2 separate regions of the Homo sapiens genome follow, and region 2 is linked to region 1. Evidence: promoter capture Hi-C in human tissues and cell types (Jung and others, 2019). All regions are on one chromosome and are shown on one strand. Each heading gives the region's core, a stretch centred on a gene start or on the middle of the fragment in contact. The rest is flanking DNA. Distances are from core to core; before and after follow the strand shown.

Evidence for each region. Contacts are between HindIII fragments. The study calls those that stand out against the background at their distance.
Region 2: a contact is called between a fragment that was not itself captured here and the fragment with the promoter of TNS1 in region 1, in 5 of the 25 tissues and cell types used here (IMR-90 fibroblasts, bladder, mesenchymal stem cells and 2 more).

What each region holds. Positions count from the first base shown.
Region 1 is chr2:218,000,148-218,005,708 of GRCh38, forward strand. TNS1 (tensin 1) reads right to left here and starts at 2,848. Exons shown (of 33, transcript NM_001387777.1): 1 at 2,693-2,848. The coding sequence starts at 2,725. RefSeq lists enhancers at 1,292-1,792, 1,793-2,293, 4,034-4,133. The HindIII fragment of the contact is 30,357 bases long and covers 1-5,561 here.
Region 2 is chr2:217,858,879-217,864,439 of GRCh38, forward strand. All of the region lies in intron 18 of TNS1 (tensin 1), which reads right to left. Among named protein-coding and RNA genes, the nearest start is that of SNORA115, 28 kb to the left of the region's middle. The HindIII fragment of the contact is 3,104 bases long and covers 1,859-4,962 here.

The sequences.
Region 1 (5,561 bases), core at 1,598-4,097:
GTTATGCATAATAAATAGCTCTGCTCCTCAGCTAATAAAGTGATTTTTATTCCTAGGACTTGTTAAAACTATGCACTACAGATATATTACTTCTTAGATGACACAATTGCAGCTTTCCCCATACAGGAACATGTGAACCAATAGATGCAAGCACTCACTCTAGGGCACAAGAACTATCTCAGTCACTTCCTGGCCTCAGAGTAGCTGGTCAGAGTCCCTGGGCAGTCAGCCCAGGAGTAGAGCCCAAGGAGTAGAGCCCTGTCCCATGACACCATTCCCAGGGAGATCCTCCCCCAGCATCAGGTCTGGGATACAGAGGATCCCAAGAACCAGGCAGGAGACTGTGGAGTGGGAAAGGGGCCAGCATTTGCTGAGCACCTACTGCATGCCTACATACCTGATCTTTTGATATCTATTGTCTCTTTCCCCACCCTAGCCATACAAGGAGTATATTATTCTCTGCACTTTACAGATCAAGAAATTGAGGCTCATGAAGGGAACTGCTTTACCAAGCCTGCCCATACCAAACGATGGAAATAGGGTTTGAGCCTAGTCCTATCTGGTGCCAGGACTGCTTCCTCTGTCCAGTCCCTACTGCCCCAGTCTCTGGCCCATCCTGGCCATGGGCATCACAGCCAGCCTAGAAAGGATGGGGACTAGGAGAGGAGAGGAAAAGGAGACAGGGGAGGGACACAGGCTTTTCTAGTCTTAAAGACACTCAAGGCCAGGCGCAGTGGCTCACACCTATAATCCCAGCACTTTGGGAGGCTGAGACGGGAGGATCACTTGAGGTCAGGAGTTCGAGGCCAGCCTGGCCAACACGATGAAACCCCATCTCTACTAAAAATATAAAAAATTAGCTGGACATGTTGGCACGCACTTGTAGTCCCAGCTACTCGGGAGGCTGAGGCAGGAGAATTGCTTGGACCCAGGAGGTAGAGGTTATAGTGAGCCAAGATCATGCCATTGCACTCCAGCCTGGGTGACAGAGTGAGACTCCATCTCAATTAAAAAAAAAATGAATAAATAAAAATAAAGACACTCAAGGAAGCAGCACTCACAGCTGCCTTGGTCCCCAGACTCTTCCCCTTACTCTCAGGGAGGGTATAACACCCATAGGGCACTCTACCTGCCAGGCACTGCCCTGGGGAATTGGATACAAAATTTCATCCCTACCTCTCTGTACCCTGTTTCTCTGCAATCCTCATTTCACCAACGGGAAAGCAGAGGCTCACCAGGATGAGGCACTTTTCCCAGTATCAGTCAGCTGAAGGGATCTATAGAGCCCTCTCTCCAGTCACAGCAGCTCGTCACCCCTGGAGGTCTACCTGCCATCCTTCTTGTGTCACCCCTGGACGTCTACCTGCCATCCTTCTTGCTGCAGAGCTCCCTCCTGCCTACCTCTGTCCTCAGCACAGAGACGAACCTGGCCAAGGCTCCCATTTCCCAGATGTCAACACCAGCCCAGTAAACCACAAATGCATCCTGTGTGCAGGCCTCCCCAGTCACTCTCAATCTATTAATCCAATCCATCCCAGCACCCCAGCCCAACATGCCACCCAAACCGCCTCATTCCAGGCCCCCTCCCCCACCCTTTCTTTCTTTGCCCAGAGGACACCTGGCTGCCCGAGTTTGTGTTCCCACAACTGCCCCCAGCATGGGCTTGCCTGGGCCAAGAGGGCCCTCCCGAGGACTGGCCAGAACAAGGAAAGGGACAGGAAAGGCCACATCTGGATCACAGCCCTGAAGCCCCCTCCCCCAAACCAGCCATCACTCTCTCAGAGCCCAACAGTAACCTCAGCCAGGGACGACTTCCTCACCCTCCTGACCCCATGCATGCCTTTGCCTGGCCAAGACAGCCCCACAGGAGCCCCTCTGAGGAAGGGGTCCTCTCCTCCTCTGACCCCCAGCCCTTCTGCAGCAGGCAGCCCTCTCCCATCCCCCTTTACCCAGGAGCCTCAGCCCAGGTCTGGCCTTAAGACTTTTAACCTTCACCACGTGGCCCCCAGGCCTCTCTGCTGGCCCCCCTGGCATCCCCATCCTGAAACCCACCTCCCTGAACCTGGAGCCAAGAGAGAAAGGGGGAAGAGCGGGCCATGGCTCCCTCCTCCAGGATGGAGAGGTCTTGGTAGCAGGGGAGGGCTGTGGAGGAAGGGATGGCAGTGGGTGGAAGCTGAAACTGGGTGTAGAAGGAATAAAAGGGATGGACTCTGAGAATTCTCCCACAGCCCAGCTCTTCCAGACTTAATATTTTGGACTACTATTCTTTGCTCCCCAGCCCCACCACTGCCTCCTCCTCAAGATCTTGGGCTCAGCAACTGAGGGGGGGCGGTGAAGAATTTTCACCCCATTGTAGGATGCAAGTCGGGAGGAAAGGCTCTAAAGAGAAGCAAACTTCTCTGTGGCCTCCTTCCACTTACAGCTCTGGGACTCCATTGGGGGGTGGGGGGGTGGGGCAGGGGATGTACTGACCCGGGACCCTGGGCCTGGGCCCTGTTGGTGGGGAAAGTCTTCCGGCTGAGGGTTGCTCAAGTCAGTCTGTCCTTCTGTAGGTCAGAGACAGAAAGGCCCCTCCTTCAAGACTGACACCCCCCGACCCCGGGCTCTCAGCAAAAGGATAAGGTGGCAGGGGCCGGTGGGGGGCGGGGGGTTTGAGGAAGAGTAACGTCGCAGCTAAAGCAGCCAGACCTACCCAGAGCATGCAGGACAGACAGATCCACGTCATCTTTGCTGGGTCCCGTCACTGAGGCACGCCCAGGGCCTGTGAAGAGCCCCTGAAGCTAGAGTCCCCGCGGCGCTGGCAGAAGGGCTCTCTGAGTCCGCGGCTGCTCCGGCTCCGCCAGCATCTGCTGGGCCTCTCGCCCTGCTGCCTCCAGCTCACCCTCCCTCCTCCTCCTCCTCCCCCCACTCCACCCCTCGTCCCAGCCTCCTCTCTCCTCCCTCCTCCCAGGCTCCACCGGTGGCCTTGAGGGTCAGGAACCCTGCTTTGCAGGGGGTGTAAAGGGGACAGGGAAAAGGGAAAGCTACCAGAGGCAGGGCCCCCCCAGGCCGTGCCCCCCACCCCCGGACACACAACCCCTGTGTGCCACCAAGGCTCCTCAGTCTTCTGATCTGGTGCTGGTAGGCCTGGAGTCCTCCCTCCTCACTGCAGACCCCCGCCCCTGGCAAACCAGCCTGGGGGCCTTCACTCCTGGAACCCTCCAGACCACTGATGGATGAACAGACAGCCCCAGGCCCACACAATCAGCACACTCAGGGTGCCTTGGCCCCTCCCCTTCTCTGAGTACCCGTGCCTGCCTTCCTGGCCTCCTCGGAACACACATGCATTTGCACACACAGACTGGGACAGACTCTGGTGCCCACGCGCCAAGCTCAGAGCCCAGGACAGGCCTTAACACAGAAGAAATAGGGCCCGAGACTGGGGAAGAATGGCCCTGCCCCCAGGCTGTGGGTTTCATTCCAATTTTTTTCCTATTTCTTTTTTTTTCCCCCTTCTTTCTTTCTTTCCTGCAAACATCTGTCCCAGCCTTTCCTGCCCTTCTGAAAGGGAGCCCCGCTCCAGGCTCCCGCGAGAGTGTGTTTTTCTTGACTGTACCCGGGGCCAACATTTGGTTTGCATTTCCCCACTTCCTCCCCCTCCTCCCCTCTCCCCCTCCCTGGGCCCAGTTCTCCCCTCCCACCATTCCACAGGCCTATTTCTTCCCCTCAGTGTCCCCTGCCCACCAGCCCTCCCCTCCCCTCGCCCCCACCTCTGCCCAGGGACAATTGTTGGGGGTCTAGAGGGTGGAAAGGAGGCTGGGTCAAAACCCAAAAGTATTCCCACGGAGCACTAAGGGGGAATCCAGCAAAGTCTGCCCCAGGCCTTCATTGTCTGGAACCACCACGTTCCCCTCCAAAAAAAACCCTTCCTCTTTGAGCTCTGGCCTTGGCTGGACCAACTGAGGGTGGGTGGGGGCCAGTGAATCACCCGCTCTGTTCTTTGGAGCTGTCCAGGAGAAGGAGGGAGGGCTCAGCCCCACACCCTCCTGTGGACACACACACACACAAGGACACAGTCCAACTCACGTCAACACATAAGAGCCCTCCCAGAGTAGGCACTTGGAGACCTCGTTCCTAGACTGAGTCACTTAGCAAGAAAAGTTCTCTTGCCTGGCCTCCTATGCACACTGTGCTATACATGCCCTGGGGCCACATGCACGAAGGGTTACAGATCCCCTGCCTCCCCCCCCCACTCACCCAAGGCCATGCCATGCCGCTGTCTGTCAGCACCACATACCGTGCAACTACCAGCCTCCTCTTTCACAGGGATCTGCCCAGCCACTTGTGCCAACTCCCAGCCCAGGGACCACCCAAGACATCTACCTGGGAAACCCCAGAATGAAGGGGAAACACTGACTCTTCATCTGAAAAAAAGACTGCAGTATTCAGATACACAGGTTGTCCACAGCACAAGGGACTAACCATCTATTGTTTGGTGGTTCTGAGAAGTCAGGGGAGGACACTGAAGTGAAGTGTCAATTTCCAGCCCTTCCTAAAGCAGGTACCTGAGTGAAGAGTCTTTGTTCCGGTAGAGGAGTCAGGGTCCTCTCTCCATACTTCTCCAAGTCCTCCAGAGCTCTGGGGCTGGGAAAGATCCTGCCTCTAGTGTCCTTCCCTGCCAGGATCACAATGTCCCTCTGGACCCCCTACTCTAAGCCTCCTGGGGCTTCACTGACATTTTAGCCAACGCTGAAATGAACCAGTGTTCCACATGCAGTTGGCCCTGCAGTCACAGCTGGGGATGTCCATAGACAGAAACCTCTGCAAACCCTCCCGTCTCCCCTGGCTGGAGCACCAGGCAAGCAAAGGGGAGTGGTCTTCAGGAGGCCTCTCTGAGAGCCCCTGAGCCCCTCCTCAGCCACTATCACCAGCTCTGCCAGGCTGCCCTTGTCCCCTGACAAGTTCAAGCCTTCAGCCAGCTAAGCCCTGACATCCCAGTGCCCACTCACACCAAGCTCCCCGCTGCCTGCTCCCACAGCCCTTCACTGCTGGCGTCACTGAAGACGCCTCCAGGCAGCTTTCTCTGGAGTTCTGAGAAGTCACCTTGGGGCTTCCCAGAAATGCTGGAAAATCAAACCAAAAACCAAGTCACAGTGACACCAACTTGTCTGGCCTCCTACACAGCCCGAGGAGGCCCTGCTGCTTCCCCAGACTCCTCAGCTAGGACTGTGAATGGAAGTAGGGGACCCTAGTGCTGGGGGTTCCCTTGGAGAAACCCTCCCTCCAGAATACCCCCATCCCTCTTCTCCAAGCCTATGGGGTCTCTCCTGTATATTAATCGCTTATCATCAAGATGTCCTTCCTGCTAATTAACCACCATTTTCCCTGTTGAATGTTAAACTCTGCCGACTGAGGTGTCTCTAACTGTGTGTAATGACCCTGTTCCAGGCTTGTCAGCCTTTATTCCTCCTTCACAGCCTGGTGTCTCCACCCCAACCCACACACGGGCAAGGACGTGTCCTGTGTTTTGTATCCCCAGAGCCTGGCATACAGCAGGCACCAGACATGGTTGAAGAATGACT
Region 2 (5,561 bases), core at 2,161-4,660, 140 kb before region 1:
GGCTTCCCAAGCCCTTCACTCCCACCGGCCGGGAGTCAGGAAAAGTGGCCAGCCCAGTCCAACTCCAGCCCCAACCCCAGCCCAGCCCCAGCCCCAGCCCCAGCCCCTGCTCAACTCTCACCCAGCACAGTCTAGCCCAGCCTGGTCCCAGCACAGCCCAGCCCAGCCCCACCGGGTCCCAGTCCAGCCCAGCCCAGTCCCAGTGTAGCCCAGCCCAGCCCCAGTCCCAAACCCATGGCAGCCCCAGTGCCCTGAAGAGAAGCAGGGAGAGAATCTGGGAGCAAAGTGAAACTGAGCCCCAAGCGGAAAGGCAGGGATGCAAGGGCCAGAGAGGGAGGGGAGAGAGGTCCTATGAGGGTATTGAGATTTATTTCCCCAAATTTTCCACATTTTTTTTCCATTCTCAGCAAATGGAAGGCAGAACAGATGACAACAATTTTCCAGCTGCTGAACAATAAGGTGGAAATCTTTTTTTCCCTCTCTCTCCCCCTTTCCCCTCCACAGGGCAGAGTCCAGGAGCCAGAACACTTCCTTGGCTTGGAAAAGGAAAAAGAAAAAACCCCACAGGGTCCTGCACTTCCCAGAGGTGAACACAGGACCTGAATAGAAGGACTGGGGTGTCACCCAGGCAGGGCTCCAGGAGGGGACAGGAGCCCCAACATGAAGTTCTCAGTGCAAAGCTTTGGATTCTGGCTTGGCAACTTGACATTTTGGAGGGCCTAACTTTGGGAAGGCCAGTGTGTGTCTGGCCAGGTATATTGATCCTCCAGGCCACCTGAGATGCTTCCAATTGACTGGCTATTGGTATTCTGTTTGTTCCCATCTGTGGAAATCATGAATAGCAGAGTATCACTTTTCAGAGTTCGCAATGCCTCACCCTCGTTCCCAACCACCCAGATCCGAGAGCCATGCAGCTGAAAGGCAGGTGAACGGCCCTCAAGTTCCCACCATTATCCTGATGTGCCCTGGAAAGTGCCAGGAGTCCCTAACTGATAATAAGACACCAAATCCCCACTCTTATTAACATGTTGTTTGTGACTTATTTGCATATCAATTGAATCTCCCAACCCAATTCTCAGAGTGGACAGGAGGTGATCTGGGCTTTGCGGCCAGGCCAGTGGGAGCTTCAGCGACTGGTGTCTCCATGCAGAGGGCCCCAGTTAGTTTGCAACCCCAAAATGCTTCCACAGACACAGGCTTGCCCTGAGCTATGGCTACCCCATCCTCGTGCCCAGACCTTCCCAGCTAAGTTTGGTACAGCGAGATTGGGAGGGAAAGCCCTGCCAGGCACAGCCCAACTACTCCCTGTGTTTCCCCTCAGACACCTGAGCCCTCAGCCCCTCGCCATTTTCAGCACCCCTCTCTGGCTGCTGTTCTTTGAGGGTAAAGAAAGAAAATAAGGGGAAGAACAAAAATGGTACCCAGTGCCCTGTACCCTGGCCACTGACCTATCTTCACTGATGAGATAAAATGGGACAGCTCGGTGTCACAGACTTCAAAGAGACCACTAAAAATAAGGAGACCAGGGGAGGGGAAGCAGAGGGGTTCTATGCCTCAGGCTCCACCTGGGGAAGACCACAGTTTGGACAAACTATTGCAATTATCCTCCTACCTCCATAGAGTCTTCTAGAACTAACCAACAAACCTCGGGCTCTTGAAAGGTTTAAGGCACCCCAGTTCACCCACTTGTCCCCACCCCAACCAACCCACAACAGTATTAGCAGAGATTTTGTTTGCACGCAACCTTCATGTTTATTTGTCCATCTGAATATCATCTACATTATTATTTTGTAAGTTATAAAAATAAACTTCATTTAACTTAAACTAGTTCTAAGCACAATATCCATGATGTCCCAGATTGAATGTGCAAAATACATACCTTTTTTTCCAATACACATCAAAATAAATATACCTAATATCAGTTCATATATAATTAGCAGTCTGACCATACTTTGGAACCTGAACCTTACTTTGGAAAACACTACCACACAATAGTTCCTGCCAGTGGCAACCCCATCTGATGGTTCTCCACTATCATCCAGGGGGACTAGCTATACTAGAAAGCCCCCAGGGAGTTTTATAAGAACCCCGATCCCCTGGCTCCACACAGAGGCAAAACTGTCTGGAATGGGGCCTGGGACTTTGAATTTGAAAATGCTCCCCAGCTGCAAATAATAAGAGAGTCAGGTTTGGCAAAAACTGTTCCTAGCTGTACTCAAATTCTTCCAGGTACAGGGATTTTACTGTCTTCCTCCAAAAGCCCAGCTCATCTTTAGGGGGCCGTAACAGTGGATTTTAGCTCAACATAGGAAAAAACACCCTGGAGCCCTCTTTTCCACTAACTGGCCTTACAGTGCCCGATGGAGTGGGTCAGAACAAGCCAATCGCCCCCTCGCTAGAGCCCTTCAGATACTGAATGAGACGTGCCTGCCCTCCTGAATCTCCCCTTTGACAGGCAACCCCTCTCCCTGCAAGTCCCTGAGCCTGACATACTTTCTGGTTGCTTCTCTGCACTTGCTTCCAGTCGTTCTTTATCACTTTGAAGCAAGGGACCCACAAACAGCCCATGTGGGCGCTCTGACTTAAAAGAGGCACAACAGGCCTGTCACCTCCCATTTTCTGGAAACCATGCTTTTGTTAATGCAGCCTAAGATTATGCCTGGCCCTTCTCATTCTCATCACTTCAGCATCTGCCAGGTTAAGAACATGGACTTGGAAGTCAGACATTGGTTTGAATACAGATACTACCAACTACTAGCTTAAGGCAACCCTGAGCCAATTACTTGGCTGAGCTTCAGTTTCCTTATCTGTAAAATGGGTATACTAGTCATTGTATCTCAGTAAGTAGTGCAAAGACTGATATAACACATGAAAAGCTCTCAGCACAGTGTACAGAACACAGAAGTGCTCCAAAGGACAGAACACGAGTAGTGCAGCGTGGGCTTCCCCGTCTCCCTTCCCTAGCCCTGTGCCCCCTGAGCAGTACCTCTGTGACCCTATCTCACCAGCCCATATGTATCACACCCAGTGCTTAAGCTTCAGGACATACAATTTGGCCCACCCGATCTCTGCTCAAAAATCATGGCCTGGAATGGCCAGCATAGAGAAGAGGCTTCCAAAATGGTGCAGACTACAAGGATGTGATGCCATTCCATTAACAAATACTGAGCCTATCCCAACACTGATTACTGCCAATGGTGTGCCTGAAAATGCATTGCCACTTCCACCTGCAGAGATGAATTCAGCCTCAAGGACCACAAGGAGAGAAGGACGGGCACAACCTCAGCTGCATGCATAAATAGGAAAGGACTTCCTGGGGGCTTGGGCAGAGGGCAGGGCATGGCAAATCTGGTTCAAAAAAGAATACACTTCGTCTTACCATGTTTCTATTTGGGGGAAAAAAAAAGACAATTTTTTTTCTTAAAACAAACTACAGGAAATAGCAGGAGAAAAGTCTTTCCCAATAGTGGGTGGGTTAAACTAAGCTTGAAAGATGATGGTATTACTCTGTCTTCAGAGGCAGCCCAGTATCCCCTGTACCCCCTGAGGTGGCCCTGAGCAGGGCAGTTTCATAAAACACAAGTTCTAGAGGTAGGAGGGTGGGTCTGGATACCTTCTGGAAACTTCTCAGGTGCCAAGGATTCTTCAAGACCCCAGATTTGCCACATGGCACCGCACTGTGGGCAGTCAGCCCAGGCAATTTCCTAGAATCCCCGCATGGTCAAGCCAGAGGATGTTGTGAGTTCATTGGGCCCAACCCACCCACCCGATTTCATCTGTCCAAGTCAGCGAAGGGAAGAGTTTCCCACTGTCACACATGGTCAGTGCTGGAGTGAGATTGCCACCAGGGCCCCTGGCTCTCAGAGGGAGTCCTCCCCACTGCCAGATCTCAGTCAGATGCCATGAGATGGGTGCTCAGAGACTGTGAACTCTCATTACAGAAGAACCACAAATGTCTGCAGGTCTAGCTGTGCGAGGAAAGTAGGATATTGGTGGACAATTCTACAATGAAGACACACTTCCCAACTGTAGGTCAAGCAAATGCCCCCATTCCCTCCAGACCATCCTTCCAGCCAGCAGACCTACAGCTGGAGCCAGGTGGCCAGGGCCCCTCACCCACACTGAGGGGTCTCTCCAGGGAGGAAGGGGGCCCAGCCTCCCTGGTCACCCCCTCCAAGGCTTAGTCCCTTCCTGTCAAGTTCTTTCTTTTCATTCGTAGGTATAAAGCAACATTCCTGGCCTGGCTCTTTGTTCTTCCTCGTAAAGAACAGAATGGCTGAGTGCTTTGGTTTCCAAGCAGCCGGGTCCCAGAACAGAAGGAGGAAACAGAACAGAGTGTCTCCAGTGAAAGACTACTTCACACCCTGCAGGTGGGACAGGTGAGATCACAAAGATGAGAGGTTAGAGGAAAGAGGAGCACCCCCAGGTAGCCAGGGCCCCCCAGGGAATGTGTGACAATACTGCAGATATTTGGGGTTATCACACCTGGAGGAAATACTACTGGTGTCTAGTGGGTACAGGCCAAAGATGCTGCTAAACATCCTACAATACACAGGACAGACCCCCACAACAAGCAATTGTTGTGGTGGTCCCAAGCAATTGTATTGGTCCCAAATGCCAATAGTACCACAGGTGAGAGGCCCTGAGCTAGACTGAGGGATGAAGGAGCCTGGGGTGTAATAGACCGATCTCCGAACTAAGACTCAAGAGTCTTGGGTTTCAACCCCATCTGGGCCACTACTTCACTGCTTAAACTTGGGCAAGTGATTTCCTTTTCCTGGGACTCAGTTTCCAACGTGGTAAAATGAGTGGGAGGAGATAAGCTTTGAACTCTAAAACTTCTGGTTCTATGGACAGCCATCAAGGAAGAGAAAGACATGGCTGGAGGGAGCAGTCAGGACAGGAGAAGGAAGGGGTCTCCCAAGATAGGCATGGTGTCAAGGTTCAAACGTCTGGGGATAGAGGGAGGAAGGGCCCGCTGCCTGGGGTGGGCACAGCAGCTGCATATGTGATGAAAACATGTCCTTAGACCTCCCCAGGACCTCCTCCCTGCCTCCCAGCCCAGTGGACAGGGAAGACAGGGCCATCGGAGCAGGACAAGCTTCAGGCACCCCTGGCAGGGCCTCAGCCTTCCAGGGTCTTCACACTTCCCATCCCAGGAAGGCAGTGGGCAGGGCCAGGCCCAGGAGCATGTTCCCTAAGAACAGGACAGGAGCCCTAGTGCCAGAGGATTACTCAGGAAGGGAATTGTCAACTCCCAGGCAGATGTTTGTGTTGGATGAGGGTCGGGACATATCCACTCACCGCGCTTCTGCTTCTCCCCACCCTTACTGCTCCCAGGACGTGGACACCATGTCAGTGGCAGTCCTCACTGAATGGGGAGAGGGTATATGGGGCTTTGGGAGCAAGGGCGAAGGAGAGGGTAGAATGGAATGAGGCAGGCATGTTATTGAGTATGTGCCTGCACGTTAATGGAAGTTCCCTTGCTTGGTTCCACAACTGCCTTTCAAAGTGGATATTGTTATGCCATCTTCCTGATAAAGAAACTAAGGCTCAGGGGT